Linked DNA regions of Homo sapiens: regions 2, 3, 4 and 5 are each linked to region 1. The links are contacts of gene promoters, found by promoter capture Hi-C in blood cells and fetal thymus (Javierre and others, 2016). All regions are on one chromosome and are shown on one strand. The core of a region is centred on a gene start or on the middle of the fragment in contact, and the rest is flanking DNA. Distances in the headings are between cores, read along the strand shown. Region 1 holds the start of TAGLN2 (transgelin 2). Region 2 overlaps AIM2 (absent in melanoma 2). Region 3 has its middle 9.1 kb from the start of ACKR1. Region 4 has its middle 12 kb from the start of TRR-TCT4-1. Region 5 has its middle 12 kb from the start of CADM3.

What was found. Contacts are between HindIII fragments. The CHiCAGO score rates a contact against its expected background, and 5 or more counts as called.
Region 2: a fragment that was not itself captured here is called in contact with the fragment with the promoter of TAGLN2 in region 1 in 1 of 17 cell types (neutrophils); the score reaches 5.0 in neutrophils.
Region 3: a fragment that was not itself captured here is called in contact with the fragment with the promoter of TAGLN2 in region 1 in 2 of 17 cell types (endothelial precursors and megakaryocytes); the score reaches 7.2 in endothelial precursors.
Region 4: a fragment that was not itself captured here is called in contact with the fragment with the promoter of TAGLN2 in region 1 in 1 of 17 cell types (endothelial precursors); the score reaches 6.6 in endothelial precursors.
Region 5: a fragment that was not itself captured here is called in contact with the fragment with the promoter of TAGLN2 in region 1 in 4 of 17 cell types (M1 macrophages, endothelial precursors, naive CD8 T cells and 1 more); the score reaches 7.7 in M1 macrophages.

What each region holds. Positions count from the first base shown.
Region 1 is chr1:159,924,177-159,926,876 of GRCh38, reverse strand. TAGLN2 (transgelin 2) reads left to right here and starts at 1,370. Exons shown (of 5, transcript NM_003564.3): 1 at 1,370-1,427. It overlaps LOC124904437 (a long non-coding RNA gene), which reads right to left. Exons shown (of 2, transcript XR_007066683.1): 2 at 1-2,398. RefSeq lists enhancers at 1,692-2,268, 1,741-2,700 and a silencer at 2,000-2,409. The HindIII fragment of the contact is 4,255 bases long and covers 1-2,700 here.
Region 2 is chr1:159,071,906-159,074,605 of GRCh38, reverse strand. AIM2 (absent in melanoma 2) reads left to right here. Exons shown (of 6, transcript NM_004833.3): 2 at 1,087-1,368. The coding sequence starts at 1,107. Among named protein-coding and RNA genes, the nearest start is that of AIM2, 3.5 kb to the left of the region's middle. The HindIII fragment of the contact is 3,980 bases long and covers 1-2,700 here.
Region 3 is chr1:159,212,614-159,215,313 of GRCh38, reverse strand. No RefSeq gene overlaps it. Among named protein-coding and RNA genes, the nearest start is that of ACKR1, 9.1 kb to the right of the region's middle. The HindIII fragment of the contact is 6,582 bases long and covers 1-2,700 here.
Region 4 is chr1:159,128,289-159,130,988 of GRCh38, reverse strand. It overlaps a transcript of AIM2 not described here. Among named protein-coding and RNA genes, the nearest start is that of TRR-TCT4-1, 12 kb to the left of the region's middle. The HindIII fragment of the contact is 785 bases long and covers 980-1,764 here.
Region 5 is chr1:159,157,817-159,160,516 of GRCh38, reverse strand. No RefSeq gene overlaps it. Among named protein-coding and RNA genes, the nearest start is that of CADM3, 12 kb to the left of the region's middle. The HindIII fragment of the contact is 2,208 bases long and covers 248-2,455 here.

The sequences.
Region 1 (2,700 bases), core at 121-2,620:
GATACTGAGAAAATACAAAGCTCTGGAAGCACGCCTTTGCCCTTGAGGAGTTCTTTCTAGTCAGTGAGGCGGACAAAGAAATAGTTACCGTATGATAAGTTCCGTGATAAAGCTATGTGTTGGTTATTGTAGCACAAAGGAAGATGTTGCATTCAAGGCCACCTTTAGTGAACGCTAATATCGTGTGCTGGGACAAATGCCACATATTGGGGGGGAGTCCTCAGGACCCTCACAGATAGATGGTGGTAATAATAGTATTCACTATGTGCCAGGCACTGCTCTAAGCCCTATAGGTGGACTGTTTAGTTCTCTACAATTCTATGAATTAGGTAGTACTATTAGCTCTGTTCTATAGACCAGGGAACTCAAGCATAGAATGCACAACAGTCACACAGCAGGTAAAGGGTAGAGCAGGTGGGGAGCCAGTCAAGGAAGGGAAACTGTCCTAGGCAGAGGAATAGCCTTTGTAAAGGCACAGAAGAGTGAGAATGCTTGACAATCAGTGGGACTGGAATATAGGGCTGTGTAGGACTCGGGGAGGGAACAGAGAATAATAGAAAGGTTGGACAGGACTGGATATTGACATCCTGGAATCTCAGGTTCAAGGGAGGACTCTATCATGTGTGCAGAACTCCACCCCGGGGGACTCTATTCAACTGAAGCCTGAAAGGATGGGGGGCTCTTTCTCCACCCCTGAACTGTGCTGTCCTCCACCCTCAGAGACAAAAGAACCCCAGCCAGCCTCCTCGCGCTGAGGTCTCCCCCTCTGATCCCTCCAGGATTTAGGAAGAGATACCAGGTCATAGAAAAGGAGATGAAAGGCAGGGAGAAGACAGGTCTGAGCCCTGGGTCCCAACACCGAAAACACCCCTAGGGCCCTGGGCAGAGTGACCTCACTGTTAGTCCCTGCCCAGGCTTGAAGTAAGAGGTGAGCAAGATCACGTGGGGGTGCTGTCCCGGCCTGCAAGTCCCAGTCCTGTCACACACTAGTCAGTTGGGGTCGGGGGAAGGCCTTCCTGTGCCTCCTTTTACCTTGCCAGCCTCTAAACTAGGAGGCTTCTTCCTACATAAACACGCCCACAGTGTTTAGCTAACTTTCTAGGCAGAAAGTTTCCTACTGGGGCACAAGTCTACGGGCTCTCGGTGGAGGCTGAGGTACTCACGGGTGGAGACCACTGCAGCCGCCTTTGTAGATTCAGACTCCCCGAACCTTTAACCCTTGCTCTGGTCTACTGTCCCTCTGTCTCAAGCAGTCCTCCCTCCTTCTGCGCTGCGGCGCCTTTAAACCTTCTTGGCCCTTGCCCCGCCCCGGGTCCGCCCCGTCTGAGGCGGGACCCTCCTGAAAATCCCCGGCTGGGCAGGGCGCACCACTTGCAGCTGCAGCCCTTGCCTTGAGTCAGTGCGCCGCTCTCCAGCCCGCTTGAACGGTGAGCAGGTCGGGGGTACGGGGGTCGGGGACATGTGCGTGCTGTGTAGAAAGCAAGAAGCCAGCGCTTTGAACTTGCTCCAGCGAGCTCGGGGATCAAGGGCTGGTACCAGGCAAGGGTCCGGTGACTACTTTACCCCGCCCCGTGCTGTCAGGTCCTGTCCCCAAGCCCTGACCCGACATTGTTGGACGATGAGGTCAGGCGAGGTTAGCCCATGCATAGACAGGGCGTCCGTCTGGAGCAGGGACTCAGGGACTGAGCCCCACCCGCGGGCTCCATCGCTGAGTCCTCACTGGGGCGAGGGGAAAAAAGGGCGTCGGACTTTAGCTGGCTGGCCCCGAGTGACCCCGGGTCGTGGCGCCGGCCCTGGGCCAGCTCGTGCTCCTGGGCTTTCCCGCGCGACCCTTCACTTCCTGGTTCCAGGAGCACGTGTGAGCACTGCGTGCCCTCTGAGTCCCCGAGGCCGCCCTTTTCATTCCTGTTCCTGCTAGCTTGCTATTCTGGGGACTTGAGGTCACGGGCTGGGGCTAGGGGGCTCTGCATGGGTCGCACGGTGACCTTCTGTGAAGCTCCAGTCATCTCTATGACGGTCCCCTGACCTCGGGGGTCTGGGTGCTGCAGCCCTGACTGCGCCCCGGGGTGCCCTGTGTGAGGTTGTGGGGGTGGTGGTGGCTGCTTTTACCCTGCCCGAGCGCCGCTGCCCCCACCGGGTGCCCCCTGCTGCTGGGAAAGCCGGTGGTGGCCGCGGGCGGACGGGCGGGCTGCCCAGACCACTGCGTCACCCCAGCGGCGGGAGGGCGGTGGGTGACTCATCTGTTGTAACGGCCCAGGGTGTGGTCGTGGGGGTGGGGGGCGGCGGCTGGGAGGCCGGACCTGCAGGACCGGAGGTGGACTGCCGCCTCCCCCCGCGCCCTGTGCCTCCTGGGGCTACCTGAAGCCGGTGTCCTGGGAGATCTGTGAGCAGTTGGTATCTGTGGGGCAGAGAGAAACGGGGTGAGAGTGGGGATGGAGTGTGGGATTCGATGTAGAAGACCTGCGGCTGGGACGGGGCTCCCCCAGTGTTCTCATTGACTTCAAAGCACCAGACAGCAATGGCTCTCTATCTCTAGCCCCCTCCCAGTTTCTCCTCCCCACTACAAGGGGCAGACCTACAACTGCAGAGGAGGCCAAGGCAGGGCGGGCCCAGTAGGGCCCTACCATTCCAGAACCAACAAATAGGTTTTGTCCAACCGCAACTCCCTCCCTCACCCCAAGGCCTCTGCCCCTGTCCCCC
Region 2 (2,700 bases), core at 195-2,694, 850 kb after region 1:
GTGTATTATTTTGGATACTATACATAAACAACTATATTACTACAACGTGATTTTGGCAACAAGTTACAAAAATAGGTTGATGGACAGAATAAAGAATCCAGAAATAGACTCACTCATATTTGGACAACTGATTTTTGCAAAGGTAAAAAAAAAAATCATTAAAAATGACAGTCTTTTTAACATATGATTCTGGGAAAATTCATATTCATATGAAAAATAAATGAACTTTGAATCATCACTTATATCATATACAAATTAACTCAAAGCAGTACATACAGCCAAATGTGAAATGATCAAACCGTAAAATTCTTACAGGAAGACATAAAATCTTCTAATCTTGAGATTGGAAAAGATTTCTTAAATAAGACACTGAAAGCATGATCCATGAAAGAACAGATTGATTAATTGCACTTCATCAGGTATATGTATATGCCAAAATTTATCAGATTGTATACTTCCAGTGTATGCACCGTGTTGTATGCCAGTTATGCCTCGATAAATCTATTTTAAAAATAACAGGAAAATGTATCCTGTTTCCTTTTTGTTGTTGTTGTTGTTGTTGTTTTGAGATGAAGTTTCGCTCCTGTTGCCCAGGCTGGAGTGCAATGGCGCGATCTTGGCTCACTGCAACCTCCACCTCCCAGGTTCAAATAATTCTCCTGCCTCAGCCTCCTGAGTAGTTGGGATTACAGGCGCCCACCACCATGCTCGGCTAATTTTTGTACTTTTAGTAGAGATGGGGTTTTGCCATATTGGCCAGTCTGGTCTCAAACTCCTGACCGCAGGTGATCCGCCCACCTTGGCCTTCCAAAGTGCTGGGATTATTACAGGCGTGAGCTACCGCGCCCAGCTAATGTATCTTGTTTTCTGAGAATTCCAGAGGTGTTGTATACTTTCTGAAGATGTCTTTCCCAGGAGTAGTGATCACCTTGCTTAAGAAGTTCTTACCTATGTCCTACTCAAATCTCTTTTACTACTGCAAATATTTTATTTTTCTTTAAAAAATATTAATAGCTCACCTTGCTTTATTTTGAATGTAGAATCACTTTTGGTGGTGTAATCTTACATGTTTTGGATTCCTTATAGGCTGATCCCAAAGTTGTCAGATGGAGAGTAAATACAAGGAGATACTCTTGCTAACAGGCCTGGATAACATCACTGATGAGGAACTGGATAGGTTTAAGTTCTTTCTTTCAGACGAGTTTAATATTGCCACAGGCAAACTACATACTGCAAACAGAATACAAGTAGCTACCTTGATGATTCAAAATGCTGGGGCGGTGTCTGCAGTGATGAAGACCATTCGTATTTTTCAGAAGTTGAATTATATGCTTTTGGCAAAACGTCTTCAGGAGGAGAAGGAGAAAGGTAATGTGGGAGTTCCACACCTGCCCCGTCCCTTTTTCTGCCAAGCCTGGGCCTTTCCTTTCATGGCATCCCTGGGATATGACCCCCAGTGCACATTGTTGGAATTTGTTTGCTAACTTAGTGCACCTGTCTCTTTGCCCCCTTTTACTGAGAATCGCTTCTAGGAAGTGTTTGTTACAAATTCCACAAATCCATTCCAGCCTTTGTTTGCATCTCTTCTTCCAGCCTTAGGGTTACCACTTCCATTTAACATCTTTTCTCCTTGCCCATCTTTGTCTCCAGTTCAGTTGCAGTGAATATGGACGTAGAATTTCAAAGTTAACTTCTCCCAACTCCATTTACACAGTATGTAATGCTGTCACATTCTACTGAAGTCTTGAAAGTATAAATTATTGCATTGGAAAACTGTAAACCAGGATATTGAGCACCTTTTTTCCTTCACACAGTCTGTCTATTCCTCTCCTTGTCCCCAGCTTTCTGTGGTCCCAGACTATCCTTCTTTAGGCGATGATCTCCTCCTTCTTCAGAAGGGAGGGAGAATCCACCTTCAGGGATTTTCTTTCCTCTCTATCTCCAGTACAGGTGACAGTATAAATTACCCACAACACAAAGATTTTTTTTACATTATTCAATAAATCACTCATCTCCATCTGAATTATCTACATTTAGTTTAAATTCCTGATTTTGTTTACTAAGAACAATTGATATGTCCCAGCTTTATGTCTGAAGAACAAAAAGGAGCTAACAGAGGAGCATATCACTCAAGGACTCTCCAAAATGAAAGTCTCCAAATGCAACAGTTTTAGGATTCAAAGTACAACAGTAGCAGCAAAAATTATAATAGCTTTTAGTAGCATTTGTGGGTGTACAACAAGGGTGACATGGCTTCTCACACATGAGTTATAGGAAGGCTAAATGAAGCCACATAAGTGATACTATGTACATTCATAATTCTATACAGATATAAACTGTTAGGTAGTTTCTAAGGCACTAAAGAGAAAGGAGTGGTGGTTTTCCCAGGCTTTAAGTTAGAAGGTGTAGTTCTTAGAGATGGCCCTTAGATGGCAGTAACTACACATGTTACTTCCAAGTAACCAACCAAAACATTGCCCTGTGTTTTTCTTATCTGGGATGAGCCAGGAATCTAGGCATATTGGCAAACATAGGCTGAGATATTTAGAAATATCTTTTATTTTGGTAATAAATCAAGAATTAATTCTTCTCTTTGACCAGGATAGAACAAAATTTCCCCTTCTACAATCTTCTCCCCATTTTGCTATTCTAATGATTCTGGGATTTTGTTATTCTGCTTAGCTAAAAAAGATCCAGTTT
Region 3 (2,700 bases), core at 113-2,612, 710 kb after region 1:
GATTTTGTGGCAATTCAAGAGCATTTTAAGCCCTTCTCTAAACAATACTATAATGCAGAAAAGCCAGCCCAAATGCCATTAAAATACCCACCAACAGCTCCCATTACCATCACTACTATCACCTGCTCCCTTCCCTTGCCCCCTGTTGACCCCTGTTGTAAGGGAATTCTTCCTTAGAGGTCCCTGTGAAACACTGTTTTAGGCAGATTCCGTGAGTCCTTTGGTCACAGGGCTGAGAACACACCCAAAGACAGAGCTGGAAGGCTAACTCCTAGCAGTCCAGCTCCCATGTGCTCCTGCCTTTGTAAGAACTTGTGTTTAGGGTGAAGTGACCCCAAAAGGCAATGGACATTTTTCGAATTGCCTGCAGGGCAAACTCTTCTTTAATACTAATTGCAGTGTATTTCCTCCCAGCTGTAACTGATTTCAGAGCTTCCACATCTGTCAGTCATCCCATTTAATCTTTACATCAGACCTGTGAGCCAGGCAAGGAAGGTGTCATTACCTGCTTTTTCTCTTAGAAACTTAGAAAGCTGCGAAGTGCTACGGCTCAGAATGCACAACTCATGTCTCCCTACTCAACCCAGTGCTCTATCTGACCACCCAACTCTGATATGTTTTGCATTTTGCCAGGGAATGAAAATGAAACTTGGAATACCTAACTGATGGCCTGGTATCCTGGGGAGCTGTCTACTCTGGTTTCTAAAAGTTGTATCTCTCTCAACTCCCTTCTTTCTCTAAATTTAAATTAGCCAAGACAAGGTAAAAAGGGTCAGGAAAAATTTGGAAAGAAATTCGTGAGTTATGTCACCTCTATTTTTAGTGTTAATTATAAAGAAGAACCTTCTGAAATATACATGTATTTAGGTTTCTTTGCCTGCTTTTTGCGGGACTCCTGCATCCCTCTAATTCTCTGGCCAAACCTGGGCCAGAGAAGCGAATTGAAGTGACAGCTTCTGACCACTAGAGGGACCCCAGGCACCAGCTACAATTTCTCTGCAGCAGCTAGTGCCTGGAATGGTACCCACCTCTTGGAAAAATTCAGGTCAGGTGCATATCTGGCTAGGAATCCCTTCGTTGTTTGGTCTCCTGAAGAGAAAAGGTATCCTAGCTCTGAATCAGAGGAATTTAGTTCCATAACGCAAGCAAAGAGATTAAAGTCATCACAAGTGAAACCCAGACACCAGAATCAAAGATTATGCATTTTAGTCTAGTTCTTTCACTTAACATATTATCACAGAGTTTCAGAGTCTTCTAGTTCCAAAAATTATGATTAATGGTATCTTGGATTAGATCAAGGACTATTGAAAATCTTCCTCTAGGTGATTCCAATGTATTGCCAATTTGAAAGAAAGCAGCTGGACTGGTCCCAGCTTTAACCCAATTCAGGGAATGCTTTCTGTGACATTTTGATAATTTATTACCGTCAAGCCACAGCTTGGATCCTTTCTGTAGCTATGAACTCATAACTCAAATTGCTTTTACCTTCTTATTTTCTTTCTCTTATTTGCACCAGAGATGAAAATTTTTTTATTTGCATTTCTCTTAAATGCTGTTATCTCATAACAGCATTTGTAATTTATTTGTGTGTTTATGTGTCTAATTACTGCCTTTCACTTTAGTCTCCAAACACCACAAAGGCAAGGCCCACATCTGATATGCTCACCACTGTAAAACAAGAACACAGAGCAGTGCATAACACACGGTCTGCTCATACACATTTCCTTCCTCCCTCCACTTCTTCCCTCCCTCCCTCCAGAATGTGACAGCCATCTCTGTGGCTCAGATTGAATTGTCAAAAGCTCTTCCTAACATTCAGCCAAAACCAGCCTCCCTGTTACTTCTTCTCATTCAGTGTTTCTAATTCTGAAGCTACATACATGCCTAATGCTTTTTGAACAGCACAACTGTTGAGTTAAAGACAACTATATATTTTCTACACATTTCCAGTGTAAATCTCCCCCACCCCTGACCCCCTTGCACCTTTAGTCTCTCCATGTAGAAGTAACATGGTCTCTAGATTGTCAACATTTTGGCCACTAGCTCCCTCTGCCTTGTCTTCACTTTTTTTTTTTTTTTTCCCAGACAAGGTCTCACTCTGTCGCCCAGGCTGGAGTGCAGTGACACGATCACGGCTCACTGCAGCCTCGACCTCCCAGAATCCAGGGATCCTCCCACCTCAGCCCCCTGTGTAGTTGGGACTGCGGGCACACACCGCCATGCCCAGCTAATTTTTGTATTATTTGTGTGTGTGTGTGTGTGTGTGTGTGTGTGTGTGTGTGTGTGTGTGTTTTCAGATGGGGTTTAATCCTGTTGACCAGACTGCTCTGGAACTCCTGGGCTTAAGCAATCTGCCCACCTCAGCCTTCCAGAATGTTACGATTATAAGCGTGGCAGCTGCACCCAGCCTGGCCACCCCCTTTTTAAGAACTCTCATTTGTTAGTGGCCTTTAAACATGCAGTACCCAGAGCCAAGCCCTCTATTCTAACTATGGCCTGTCCAGGGCAGGGGTGGTGCTGTGCACTCCCTCGTCCTGTACACTTTGTCTCTTAATGCAGTTGAGTCTGCATTAGTGTTTTGGCTACCACATGCACTATTGAATCATCTTTAGCTTGTAGCCAAGTGAAACCTCTAAGTCTTTAAAAATTTTTTTTTACAAGAACTTCTGTTGAGCCAGGTATCTTCCATCCTGTTTTTGT
Region 4 (2,700 bases), core at 123-2,622, 800 kb after region 1:
AGAAAAAAAGCACTCCAGGCAGTCTGTGAGACTGACATCTAATGCCGAGAGCCAGATTGTGGAGGAACTGATAAACCTTCTTAAGGAGTTAGGATTTTATCCTAAGAGAAAATACCAGCCAATGACAGATTTGAAGAGTGCGTGCGTGTGTGTGTGTGTGTGTGTGTGTGTGTGTGTGTGTGTGTGTGGTGACCAGGCTTAGATTTATAGTTTGGAATACAGTTTGAAAAGATTATTCCAGAAGAATTTGGAGAAAGACTGAAGGGAAGCTAGGTTGGAGACAGTTTGAGGGTATATGTGATATGGTGTTGGCTTGTATTAGAGAAGTGGAGAGAAAGAGAGAGAAGAGGATAAAACTGAGGGTCATTTAATATATCAAATGAATAAGACTCAGTGGAAATCAGCTGTAAGAGGCAAAGGGAAAAGGAGAGCCCAGGATGATTCCCGGCTTTCTGGCTTGAGCAAATGAGTGAATGGAAGTGCCTTTTAATGAGAAAGGGGATAGGTAGTGGAAGTAGATTCTCAAAAAGGCCAGGGAAGATGAGTATTTCCACTTTAGACATGTTGAATTTGAGGTGTCAAATATGTACCAGTAGATATGTCTAATGGGCAGCTAGATATATGAGCCTGGAACTGTGAAGAGAAATCTAGGTCAGAAATACAAGTTAGGAATGATCAGTCTGTTGTGAGTAAATTGATGTCTTGGGAGTGGTCAATATCTCATAGAAGGTAAAATAAGAAAAGAAGAATGGCTAAGAAGAAGCCCTGAGGAACCCATCATTTAAGGAATCATCAGAGGAGGTAGAAGCGAGCAAATGAGACTGGCCAGATAGGCAGGAAGAAAACTAGGAGGGCTGGGGCCAGAATCAATGAACAGATGCTTTTAAAAAAGGGTGCACGAGCCATAGTGTCAAATGTTGCTGATAAGGGCCGACGTTTCCTTTAGGATTTGGTAATACATGGGTTGTCAAGGGAAGCTTCAGTGGAGTGACAGAAGTGGACATTAGTGAGTTCCCAAGTGAGTGAGAAGTGAGGAAGGAGAAGCAAGGAGTGTATACAATTAAAACATTTGTTGTGAAATGGAGTTAGTGGATGGGATGGGAGCTGGAGGGAGAAGTGTGTGGTTTAGGGAGTGGTTTGTTTGACAGGGAATGGTAGTGAATGTTTAAATGCTCATGGAAGTTATCTCATAAAGACAAACATTGAAGGAACAAGAGAGAGGAGTAATCAATAGATAGTTTAGTATTTGAGGAGGCAGTCAGAGATAATGATAATAGTAGTAATGAAAGTTGTTCCCCTCTTATTCAGTAACTGTTCTGAGGGCATGATTCCATTTAATTCCTACACAGCCTCTCCTACAGAGGTACTTTTTATTGTTATCCTGTTTTTTTGAGATAAGGAAACTGAGGCATAGAATGGTACTCTGAGTAACCAACATCACATAGTAAGTGGTGGAGACAGCATTGATACCCAGTCAATCTAGCTTGAGACTTGCACCATTAACCACAGTGTCCTATTGTTGGGTTCACAACCTGGCTGTAGACTCAACCCTTAGTACTGTAACTGAAGAGAAGGTGGATAGAGCAGGTACAAATGCAGTTGTCAGCTTAGTTAGCATCATGAATTTTCTAGAGATGCCATAACAAATTTCCCCAAACTGGGTGCCTCAGAAATTACAGAGATTTATTCTGTCAAAGTTTTGGAACCCAGAAGTCCAAAATCAAGGTCAAGATGTAAGCAGATTTTCACTCCTCTGAACAAGCTTCTTAGCTTGGGTCTGCATACTTCCAAACTCTGCCTCTGTCTTTACCTGGCCATCTTTTCTGTGTCTCAGATCTCTCTCTGCATTTCTCTGTAAGGATGCCTGCCATTGGATTCCAGGCCCGCCCTAAATCTACAATGATCTCATCTCAAGATCCTTACATTAATTACATCTGCAAGATGCTTTTTACAAATGAGGTCACATTCATAGGTTTTAAATGTTAAAACCTGGGCATGTCTTTTTGGGGTCCACTGTTCAATCCACTGCAGTTAGGAGATTGGATGAGTTTCTGACAAGTGGACTTGATAATTTCTGTGAGGTAACAATGTGGGTTATTTGCTGAGAATGTGTCCCAATGTAGAGGGATCAAACATATAAGGGGAGTGAAGAAATCTTGAAGTATCATTATTAAAATATGAAGAGTGAGCTGACTAGGAAATGTAGTTTGTGGAGCAGTGTGGAGAACCAGATGAAGTTTATTGTCATGAATTTATAGTTGTGTGATTTTCCCTAGCAATGATTAGCAGCCCGGGTGCAAACACTGAGGAAGCTGAGAGTTAAAGTATCTAGATCCTGGAAAGAGGGGGTGTGGGAGGGAAGGAAGGACAAAGGCAGAGGGGGTTAGGATACTGGCAAGTGGCTTTCCATGGAAGGCCATAGAGGTGAAGAAGTCGGATAGAGGACTACTGGCTTGGTCAAAAGCAGTCAAAAGAGTGGGAGTAACTGAGTGAACTCGCTATAACGATACTAGGCCATTCTCCAAGTACAGAATATTTATTACTTTAAACACACAAAAAAATCTGGATTAGTGGTTGCAGTAAAGGCAAATAGAAGTTTAATGGAGATAGAAAACTCAAAGGAAAGAGAGGACGGGATTCTGGACAGGCCACTCGTGTAACCCCAGAGTCATGCAGAAAAATGGCAGGGCTTGGGGTGGT
Region 5 (2,700 bases), core at 102-2,601, 770 kb after region 1:
ATAAAAAGCTCTATTTTTCCCCCTGCAAACTCAAATCTGTTTAAGTTAATAAGGAAAAGTATACCTATTCTTGCCTTGTTAAAGGGTAATGATGGATCTTGGATAGACCCAGAATGTTAGCACTTCAAAGTGAGGATGTGTAGACAAAGAATATAACTGCTTTATCCCTTTCCTAATTGCATGGCATCTCTAGCACAGGGAATGAAGGATTATTTAGGATAGAATCAGTATACTGGTTTGAAAAGCTTTGTGGATGAAAAATAAGGGAAATCAATTTGATGAGATGGCTAGTTTAAACCAAATTTGGGAGGTGGGATTTGAAAACTAGACACTGAAGAGCTTTATCTTTATCCCAATGTCAGTTGGAAAAAAAATTGTAGCAGGACGTTATGTTGTTGAATTGGTATTTAAATATTAATTCTAAGATTCATTGTGGTAAAGATGGTAATTTTTAATTTATAAATTTGATGCAATACTATGCTAAATTCCAATAAGATATTTTATGGAACTTGACTAGCCTATTCTAACATTCCCTTGGAAGATAAAGTCAAGAGTAAATAGCCATAATTTTTTAAACACATGGGGCTAAGGGGGAGGATGATTTTCTAGCTATCCTAAGCAACTTTAAAATTATAGCAATTAAAACATGAAATCTTGGCACAGGAATACATAAATAGAACCATGGAGCAGAAGAGAGAGTGTAGTTACAAACCAACTTGGAAATTTAGTGTATGAAGAGTGCTACCTTCATTATATACTACACTTCTAATCAGTGACTAGAGGGTTGTACTGTTTAAAGACATTAGAATAATTGGTTATCTGTTTGTCAGTTGGTATGGGATAGGTTTAGCCTTTCCTTATGCCATATACGACAATATATTTCAGGTGGACTTGTGCTAAATTTTATAAACCAAACAACACTAAAAATGTTTGCAAAAACTGTCGAAAAATATACTTAATCTTAGAGTGGGAAAGACCTTCCTAAGCAAGACACAACACCTAGAGTCGATAAAGGAAAGGACCGATAAGATTTACTGCATAATTTTTAAAACTGATATAATTGCAGACCCATAGACAAAATGTAAAAGTAAGTCACAGACTGGGAAGATTTTATTTGCAATATATATGCCAAAGTATCAAAATTGCTAACATGCAAAATAGTCAGCAAATAAACATAAAAAAGACAAACAGTCCAAGAGAAAATTGGGCAAAGGATATGAGTATGAATTCTCAGAAAAAAAATACAGTTGTCTAATAAACATTTGAAAAGATGATCAACGGCATTTGGATTTTGAGAAATACAAGTTATAGCACCAAAGAGATCCTAGACTGTTAAAAAGCATCAAAGAACCCATCAGATTGTTAAAAAATTAAAATGATGGATAATACTCAGTGTTGGCAAGTGCTTAGGGAAATAGGCACCTTTATATATTGTTAGGGAGGATGTAAATTGGCACAGCCTTTTTGGAGATATTTTGGCAGAATGCATCAGAATTAAAAATAGAAATACCAGCAGTGCTATTTCTACAAATTATGCTATAGATCTGTTCACACATGAGTGCTCTGATTTATGTGCAGAGATATGCATCACATCATTTTTTTCCAGTAGTGAAAAATTGAAGACAACATAAATATTCATCAATAGTGAATTGGATAAATAGATTATGCTATATCATACTTTGTAATAACACATTGCAGTTAAAAAGAATGAGGTAAATTTATATCTACCAACATAGAAAGATACAGAAGGTATGTTGTTCAGTGAAAATACAAAGAAAATACACATACTGCTATCCCTTTTGTGTAAAATGGGAAAAAAGCATAAAACATATACATATGTGTATGTAAAATCTTATATGCATATAAATATGTGTTTAAGTAAATGAATAGTTACTTACTGGCTGTGTGACTTCAGGCAAGATACTTAACCGCCTCAGCATTTTTTTTCATTGTGTGGAAAATAGAGATAATTTTACATGACCCCTAGGGTGGTATGATGTGAAAATTAAATAAATTAATCTATTTAAATTGCTTTAAATAGCGCCTGGCACATAGTAGGCACTTGAGTGTTTCTATTGTTCAGATGCATATTAAACTTGGAAAATTATTTTCTGGGCCAGGAGTGAGACTTAAGTCATAAGGGGGACTATAATTGTCCATATTATATACTTCATATTTTTATAATGTGTGCCTATGTATTGAATGATTAATTTTTTTTAAATTAAATGCTTATTCTAAGAATATGAGTTAAAAGATGATTATAGAAATCCAGGAACAAAGTAAAAGAGTCCTGAGCAAGGGCAGTGGAATTGGGAATGGAAAAGAGGTGCTACGTTTGGTGTTGGTTATGGGAAGCAAGACAGAGGGAGAAGGCTGAGGCAGCTCTCAGTTTTGGCTTTTGAGTGACTTGGAAAATGCTGAACCATGAAAAGAAATAGTGGAATTAGGAGAAGCTTTTTGTGGGGTTTAGTATTTTGGAATGAAGGAGGATTAGTGTCTTACTTGAGGCTGCTAAAACAGAATACCATAAACTATGTGGCTTAAACAACAGACTTTGGTTTCTCACAGTTCTGGAGGCTGGGAAGTCCAAGATCAAGGTACTGGTGGATTTGATTCCTGTTGAGTGTCCTCTTCGTGGTTTGCAGACAGCCACCTTCTCAATGTGTCTTCACATGGTGGAAAAAGAGATTGTCTCCCTGT